Regions from separate parts of the Homo sapiens genome. Here all the other regions are linked to region 1. The links are contacts of gene promoters, found by promoter capture Hi-C in blood cells and fetal thymus (Javierre and others, 2016). All regions are on one chromosome and are shown on one strand. Each heading gives the region's core, a stretch centred on a gene start or on the middle of the fragment in contact. The rest is flanking DNA. Distances are from core to core; before and after follow the strand shown.

What was found. Contacts are between HindIII fragments. The CHiCAGO score rates a contact against its expected background, and 5 or more counts as called.
Region 2: a contact is called between a fragment that was not itself captured here and the fragment with the promoter of M1AP in region 1, in 1 of 17 cell types (neutrophils). The highest score is 6.7, in neutrophils.
Region 3: a contact is called between a fragment that was not itself captured here and the fragment with the promoter of M1AP in region 1, in 4 of 17 cell types (naive CD8 T cells, naive CD4 T cells, total CD8 T cells and 1 more). The highest score is 6.2, in naive CD8 T cells.

Annotation. Positions count from the first base shown.
Region 1 is chr2:74,646,989-74,649,847 of GRCh38, forward strand. M1AP (meiosis 1 associated protein) reads right to left here and starts at 1,342. Exons shown (of 11, transcript NM_001321739.2): 1 at 1,277-1,342. The HindIII fragment of the contact is 10,572 bases long and covers 1-2,859 here.
Region 2 is chr2:74,899,296-74,902,154 of GRCh38, forward strand. No RefSeq gene overlaps it. Among named protein-coding and RNA genes, the nearest start is that of LINC01291, 8.2 kb to the right of the region's middle. The HindIII fragment of the contact is 4,070 bases long and covers 1-2,859 here.
Region 3 is chr2:74,873,498-74,876,356 of GRCh38, forward strand. HK2 (hexokinase 2) reads left to right here. Exons shown (of 18, transcript NM_000189.5): 6 at 347-446; 7 at 769-952. Among named protein-coding and RNA genes, the nearest start is that of LINC01291, 34 kb to the right of the region's middle. The HindIII fragment of the contact is 684 bases long and covers 1,057-1,740 here.

The sequences.
Region 1 (2,859 bases), core at 92-2,591:
TACTAAACAGGCTCTGACCTTATTCTGACCCTATACTCTCCACTTTTGCCAAGAACACTCGCTTAATGAATTCTCCCTGCAAACTGGTTAAAACTGGAACTGGGCCTTGAACCACTCCAAACCACCAAGTTATGCCCAAACTAAAAACCCTCCAAGGACTTCCAATTACACCACTGGAAACAGAATCCAATATCTTTACCCTGGCCCTAAAGTTCTGCTTGTGCCTTCTGCCCAACTCTCCATCCTCACACTAGGCCCTCCCCTGCCCGCACCCCGGGAGATCCACCTCTCACAGATCGGCTTCTCGCTGTGTCTGCCTCTGCGGATGTTCTGTTCCGTGCTGAGCATTCTAGGTTAGGGCCCCTTTACAAGCCCTCATTCACTTTGTCGCGTGATAAACGATTCAATGGTTCTCCCTCTGGCAGGGCCCTATTAAAGATTTCGTGGGCCCTAAGGCACTTTCGTCTTCGTGGACCCCTTCCTCCATTAAAAAAAGATTAAAAGAAGTTAATGGATTTTGTAGGCCCTAAAAATCTCATTTCCCCCTCCTGATGTGAGAAAAAAATCAAAACACTTTCTTTGACTTCATGGGTTCACTTTAAACGAAATGAAAACATTCTCGTGGCCGGGCACGGTGGCTCACGCCTGTAATCGCAGCACTTTAGGAGGCCGAGGCGGGCGGATCACGAGGTCAGGAGTTCGAGAGCAGCCTGGCCAACATAGGGAAACCATGTCTCTACTAAAAATATAAAAAAATTAGCCAGGCGTGGTGGCGGGAGCCTGTAATTCCAGCTTACTCGAGAAGCTGAGGCGGAGAATCACTTGAACCCGGGAGGCGGAGGTTGCAGTGAGCCGAGATCACGCCATTGCACTCCAGCTTGGGCAACAAGGGTGAAACTCCGTCTCAAAAACAAAGCAAAACCAGAAGAAAAAAAATTCTCGTGGCTCCCTGAAGCCTCCGTGGTCCCTCGGCATGGCGCCTACCGTGCCTGGCGGATCAGCAGCCCGGCCCTCGGGCCTGGGGGCCCCGCGGAGGAAGCTCCGGGCCCAGACTCCGCGCAGGCCTGGCCGCCCAGAACAGTATGCGGAGGGATGACTCCGACAGCGATTTCGGAGCCTCTCTCGGCGTCAGTCTTGCGCCGGCACCCGCCACGGCCAGCGCAACCAACACCTGCCTGAGGACTGGCCCGAGCTCGGCCCACGCCCAGCCCAGCCTGCGAAGTGGTGCCGGCTGCTCTCGGGCTGCCCTCCCTCCCCGAGGCGTGGAGAACCGTACCTGTCTTCGGAAGACGGAGGCCCCCTCACCTGGTCCTCCCGGCTCTCAGCGTGCGCCCGCGCGTTCGGAGGCGCCCCCCTCAGGCCGGCGCGGCTGGGCGGGAGGCTCACTGCGGGCAAGGCGGGGCCTGGCTGCCTCAGGGTGCGCTTCAGGTGGCGCTTCAGGAAAACGGTCTCCAAGTCCCTAGATACCCTGAGAACAGTCCTTCTTTGTCCCTTAGGTAGAATTTTGTCTATTTGTTGGAAATGCTGTGCTAAACCTGACATTTTTCTTTTTCTACCCCTTCCCATGAAACATGCCAGTAGCTCCCCCACCGACCGTTTTCTTGGTTTTAACTTTTCCCTTCCACATCATTTCCTTCAGCCAGTCGCTATTTTGTTCACTAAACATCTGTGGTGGGCACGTTATGTGCCACGCATTGTGCTAGGATTGGAGTACAGTGGATGTACAGACAATGGTCACTGCCCTCATGGAAGTTATAGCTGCCTTCACAAAGTTCTTTTAAGTCTTTTCAAACTCCTGTATTCCAAGAGGGTCTGTCGCTCTCTTCATACTCATTCTCGCTTACTTGAGGTTGATTCCCATAGTCCCTTTGACGAACTCCAGATGGGGTAGGAGCGTCCTGGTCCTTAACAGTTGGTTGGTCTGGGTCTTCAACTCTGGTTAAAAAGGAATTCTCTGAATTAGTCCACAGGAGAGGGAAAGATAATGCTAGTTCCAAGCTAGAAATGTACAAGCAGTTTTCCTTGTTTTCTTTATTATTATTATTGTTATTTTCTCAGTTCATTGTCTAGATGCAGGTTGGAGGTGGGGTGGGGCAATATTTCAATGAGTGGCACAGGATAGGTTAGATGTTTCAACAGGAAAAGAGTTGCCTGCTTGTATTCTAGTCCCACTAAACCATTTTGCTCCTATCAACTGTTCCTCAGGTAAGAACAGAACTATTTAACCTATGTCCTTTTTTAAACACTATAATCTGATATTCAATAGAGTTCCTGTGTTTCAGTTTAAAGGGTAGCTTCTCAACAGCTCTTTCCCCCCATATAGTCCAAATTAGCCTTTCTGTCTCTAATCTCCAGATTATCGTTTCCACTGATGTTAGAATTGTCCTTGTAAAAATATTTTGATCATATCATTCTTTGTCTTAAAAATGGCTTATGTTTCCTTTTCGGTTAGAGGGTCCATTATAACTGACCCCACCTACCTTACTAGGCTCAACCCCAGCATTACCTGTCTTACTCCCCTTTGTGTTGCTATACCAGAATACCACAGAACAACTAACTTGTAAATAAAGGAAATGTATTCTTAAATTCTGGAGGGTAGGAATTCCAAGGTTGAGAATCCCACATCTAGTGAGGGCATTTTTTCTGTGTCATCCCATGGCAGAAGGCAGAAGGGCAAGGGGTACAAAAGAGCAAGACAGCAATAGGGAGCTGAACTCACTTTTACAACAAACCCACTCTCTCAATAACTAACTCATTTCCAAGATAATGACATTAATTCATTTATGGGGGCAGAGCCCTTATGGCCTAATCACCTCTTGTTAGGCCCCACCTCTGAACACTATTCCATTGGGTACTAAG
Region 2 (2,859 bases), core at 250-2,749, 250 kb after region 1:
GGTATGAAAATAGGTATTTTGTTGTGGAAAGAAATGTTTTTGTCTAGGGGGAAGTTATTTAAAGTTCATTTTAGAATAAATGAATAAAGGAACAAATGATATAGATAAAACTAAATGAATATAAAAAGTTGGGGGAAGAAAGAATAAAAAAGTTGTAAGAGATTATAAAAGGTTTATGAAAATGTTATTTTGTGTGGTCAAAACTGAGATTGAGTGGATTTATTAGGTTTCATTAAAATTAGCTTTAGTATTGATGAAACAAAAGTAAAATTTGTTTTTCCCTTTTAAATAAGATTTTCTTGCATCAATAAGATAATAAAAGGCTGTTCACCTTTTGCACAAAGTACAAAAGAAATTTTAAAAGGGAAGAGAGAGACAGACTCTGTATGCCTCATGCTGTCTTTCTTAGTTCTTTTGATTACTTGAAAAACTAAGTATCTATTAAAGAGTAAAGATTTTTGCTTATTGAATTTTTTTTTTTTTTTTTTTTTGAGACAGTCTTGCTCTGTCACCCAGGCTGGAGTACAATGATGTGATCTCGGCTCACTGCAACCTCCGCCTCCTGTGTTCAAGCAGCTCTCTTGCCTCAGACTATTGAGTAGCTGGGGTTACAGGCACCCGCCACTATACCCATCCAATTTTTGTATTTTTAGTAGTGATGGGGTTTCACCATATTGGTCAGGCTGGTCTCGAACTCCTGACCTCAGGTGATCCATCCGCCTTGGCCTCCCAAAGTGCTGGTATTACAGGTGTGAGCCACCGCGCCTGGCCCTATTCCTTGATTATATACTAAACAAGGGGTGGATTATTTATGAGTTTTCTAGAAAAGGGGTAGGCAATTCCTGGAACTGAGGTTCCTCCTCCTTTTAGACATATAGGGTAACTTGCTGATGTTGCTATGGCATTTTTAAACTGTCATGAACTGGTGGGAGTGTCTGTTAGCATGCTAATGCATTATAATTAGCATATAATGAGCAAGGAGGACGACCAGAGGTCACTTTCATCGCCATCTTGGTTTTGGTGGGTTTTGGCCAGCTTCTTTACCATTTGCTGTTTTATCAGCAAGGTCTTTGTGACCTGTATCTTGTGCTGACCTCCTATCTCATCCTGTCACTAGGAATGTCTCACCTCCTGGGAATGCAGTCCAGTAGGTCTCAGCCTTATTTTACCCAGCCTATATTCAAGATGAAGTTGCTCTGGTTCAAATGCCTCTGACACTTATATTTGGACAAACTTTGTGCATGCAAACTACAAACAAAAAAAAATCTGTCAGATTGCCACAAATCTTCTTAACTGACTGCCTTCTAGACTCTAAAGGAACCAGCTTATAGACTACTGCAGACATTTGTTTTTCTTATTTCCATAGAAATGCCTCTAATTAAGGATCTTTTTGCCAAATCATGTATGGAGGCCTACCTTTGAGATCCCATCTGCAATGCCAACCATTTATTGAACTGGTCTATTCCCAAGAGTGCGAGGCTGGTTGAATGGGACCCGTTGCCATTCAGCTACTAACTTGATTTTTCTGTCCACAGCTACTCACAAAATTTTTAATATATAAACCTTCTAGGAAAGTTTCAGACAGGGAATGTTGGGTCTCAGAAAACAATACCCCAATATAAGGTGCATGGACATGCCAAATAAAGAAGCAGCTTCAGGAGCTCTCTATGCTCCCCTCCTGCCCCAAGCCTCTGTCTGTCCAAAGCATAGGATGAGGCTTTTCTCTAATACCCCTTTATCTGCATAAGGACGACCCAACTGGGAGAGCACAACTGTCCTCTAACCTCTCCCTGATATTTCATTATCTATTTCAGAAAAGAAGCCTGAGGAATGCAACCACACCTGGACAGACTTTTTCACAAAATAATGTCTGCCTCTTAGGCTCATTCAATTTCAAAGGGAATTATTTACAAGTTAATTTCTGTCTTTTGAGTCCAGTCATTCTCCCTAATACCGATTTATTATCCCTCAAAAAAATTGCCACATTTTCCCCATCTCTTCTTCCTTTATGAAGAAGGGTATATATGCATCTGGACCTCATTGGGTTATTGGGTAATACTCTTGTGATTATCCTGTGCTTATGCATGTTAAAATAAATTTGTATGCATTTTATCTCCAATTAATCTGCCTTTTGTCAGTTCATCTTTGCAAACCTTCAGAGAGTGAAGGGGAAAGATTTTCTCTTTATCCTAAACCTTCAAAGAAATGGGTGGTCTGTGCCTAAGTTGTTTGTTGCTTGGAAATTGCTTTTCCACCTTCTTCCAAGCCTGTTGGGTCCTTTTCTTTCTTTCCTTTCTGCTTTGTTTTCTTTAGTTTGGGCCTCAGGTGCAGAAGCCTAAATTACTTATAGTTCTGCCTTATTCCGGGCCTTTTCTAGTCTTTGCATAAACCTTTCTTGCTTTTTCATTTTCTTATTCCCTTTTATCCTCATTTTCCATTCTCTACTTACAATCAACAAATGTGTTATTGTGTTTGATGTGCAACTTATTTTTGTATGTGTTTTTATAAAGCATATATTGTGTGCATGAAATTTTACATGCACACAAAATTTACAAAATTCTATTGGCTAAAAGTCTCTTTTTTCCATCCACTAAGCACCATACTTTTAAAGATCCACAGACGCTGCTATGTGTATGTCTCACGCGTCCGTGTGAAGAGGCCATCAAACAGGCTTTGTGTGAGCAACAAGGCTGTTTATTTCACCTGGGTGCAGGCGGGCTGAGTCTGAAAAGAGAGTCAGCAAAGGGTGGTGGGCTTATCATTAGTTCTTATAGGTTTTGGGATAGGCGGTGGAGTTAGGAGCAATGTTTTGCAGGCAGGAAGTGGATCTCACAAAGTACATTCTCAAGGGTGGGGAGA
Region 3 (2,859 bases), core at 149-2,648, 230 kb after region 1:
CACATGTACTCAATAATTTTGTATGCGATCTGCTGCTTTGGGGGTTTTTAGATTATCAAATGGATAAATAATCTTAGCCTTGGCACAAGAAAAGCTCTTTAGTTCTTAACCTGAAGAAGACTTGAATGTGATTTCCAAGTAAGAAAGTTGGAATGATGTTGACATGGGAGTGGAATGGCTCAGAGAGAGAATGAATTAAAAGTCTTATCACAGGAGGAGTTATGGGGAGGGAGGGGGGAGAGAGAGAGAAGGAGGAGGAGGAGGAGGAGGAGTGATATATAGCTGGTGTTAGGAAAGTCGCCCTCTGTGATGATGAAGGTCAGAGCCCTCCCATTTGTCTCCACAGGACTTTGATATCGACATTGTGGCTGTGGTGAATGACACAGTTGGGACCATGATGACCTGTGGTTATGATGACCACAACTGTGAGATTGGTCTCATTGTGGGTGAGTGAACACCGTGCATGAAGGGCCCGTGCTGGCCAAGGGATGGGGGTGTGGGCTGGAAAGGGAGAAGGGGCCCATGGGCTGGGTGTTCCTTTGTAGTTCATATTAGAAGATAATGGTCCAGTCACTTTGGAGAGCCGAGCAGGGACTCATGGAGTTGGGGGTGGCAGAAGATTAGACCATGTATTGTGATGCCCCCAGAGTCTGCAGTGAGAAATCCCAGCCATCCTGGCCGGGCAGTCTCGGGACAGTAGTATAAGAGGGAAGAGGGGTGGGAAGGGGCCGGAGCAGGCGTGTGCATAGCCGTCCCTTGTTTTGGCAGGCACGGGCAGCAACGCCTGCTACATGGAAGAGATGCGCCACATCGACATGGTGGAAGGCGATGAGGGGCGGATGTGTATCAATATGGAGTGGGGGGCCTTCGGGGACGATGGCTCGCTCAACGACATTCGCACTGAGTTTGACCAGGAGATTGACATGGGCTCACTGAACCCGGGAAAGCAACTGTGAGTAGGCCCTTCCTGTGCGAGTGGGCTTGGCGGGGGCCTGGAGCTGAGTCTGGGGCTGGTCGGGGCCAGGGGGTTGTTTCTTTACAGTCTTACATCCCCAAAGCTTGCCAAGGTGGCCACTGGTCATAGGAATGTCTGTGACTATAAATTGCTGAGAGGATCTAAAACAGAGAGCAAGCGGATATACCAGATTATAGCTAATAATGTGTTTCCTTCACAGGAGTCATTTTGGAAGGTTCTATTCTGAGTGTAAGTGGGTGGCCCTGCTCTTTCTTTCCACCTTCTATTTGTAAATTGTCCATGGGAACTGTGAGCCACCTAAGGAAAGTTGTGTTGAGGTGGCCAAGATTGGGGTCTCTGAAAGCTCCTTTCATAGCTCCAACTCCATCACCACCCAGAGGACAGGCTGACAGCTGGCTGCTCATTGCTGCTCCCTGGGGTCCCAGGGCCTCCTGCTGCAGCTGCAGGCAGACCCATGGCCCCTGGAGACATTGGCTGAGGAGCTTCCTTGGCCTCCTTCACTTGGACCTTGGCCCAACTATGTCCTGGGATGGATTGGAGGAGGGGCGTCTAGCATTTTGGATCCTGAATATTGTATTCTCCAGCCTGGCCTGCCTTTGTTTTTAGTTGCTTTTATCTCTTACAAAACCTTATTTCACCCTCACAAACATTTGCCAAATGTGCGTGTGAAAGATCTTGAAACAGGGATTGCTTCAAGGTCTGAAGCAGTTGCAAAATATTTTGAGCAATACAGATCATCTCTGGTCTTGTGACTGTTGTAGAAAAGCTTTTCGTGCAGATCTCTACTTGGACAGGAAAATTGAACCCTATAAATCAAGTCAGTGGTGGGTAACCCAGGAGAGTCCTTGCTTTCGTTTTTTTTTTTTTTTTTTTGAGACAGAGTCTCTCTCTGTTGCCCAGGCTGGTGTGCAATGGCGCAATCTTGGCTCACCGCAATCTCTGCCTCCCGGGTTCAAGCGATTCTCCTACCTCAGCTTCCTGAGTAGCTGGGATTACAGGCGCCTGCCACCACGCCCAGCTAATTTTTGTATTTTTATTAGAGACAGGGTTTCACCATGCTGGCCAGACTGGTCTCGAACTCCCGACCTCAGGCGGTCCGCCCTCCTCGGCCTCCCAAAGTGCTGGGATTACAGGCGTGAGCCACCGCGCCCGGCCTGAGAGTCCTTGCTTTGTCAAAGCATGGTTTATTTATCTAAGTCACAAGCTTGTTTCACATGTTGAAATGAGTCCTTTACTTGAAATTTCTGAGGATCATACTGGTTGTGTCTGCCATGGCTGATGAGAGGTTTATGAGCTGAAAAGTCACTCAGTGCCTGCCTCCATGAATGAGGCACACCCAAGTCATTCCGAGGAACTAAAGGCCCTTTCAAATGTCAAAAGACAAATTTGCCAGCCAGACCATGACAGCACACCCCCGGCTTATCCTTTGACACCCACCAAATTGTCATCCATGGTAGCCCTGAAGTCACTACAGACAATTTTTGTCCCCTCTAATATATTTCCAAGTAAGTATCTTCCAAATGTTGACTGGAACAAAGTGTTTTTAAAAACTAGAATAAAAACTTAGCAACACGGAGTTCCTTACTGTTGAAGCCAGGCTCCCATCCACGCTGGTTTCCTTCTCCTGAAGCTCTGCCTGTGTGGGTGCACTAACATTTAAAATGCGCGCTGTCATCTTCACAATTTTGCCAGCTCTCAGTTAGCCCTGATGCTGCTGTACTCGGCCTTGGGTCTTGAGCAGGCTGCTTCCTGGAGGCCTGGGTTTCCTCTCGGAAAGGTAACCTTGGAATCCCTTCCACATCTCAGTCCTGGGCCTCCTCCTCGCTGGGGCTCATCCTAGTTAGTGGCAGCAGGCCCATGTGCCTCCTCTAAGACACAGGTTC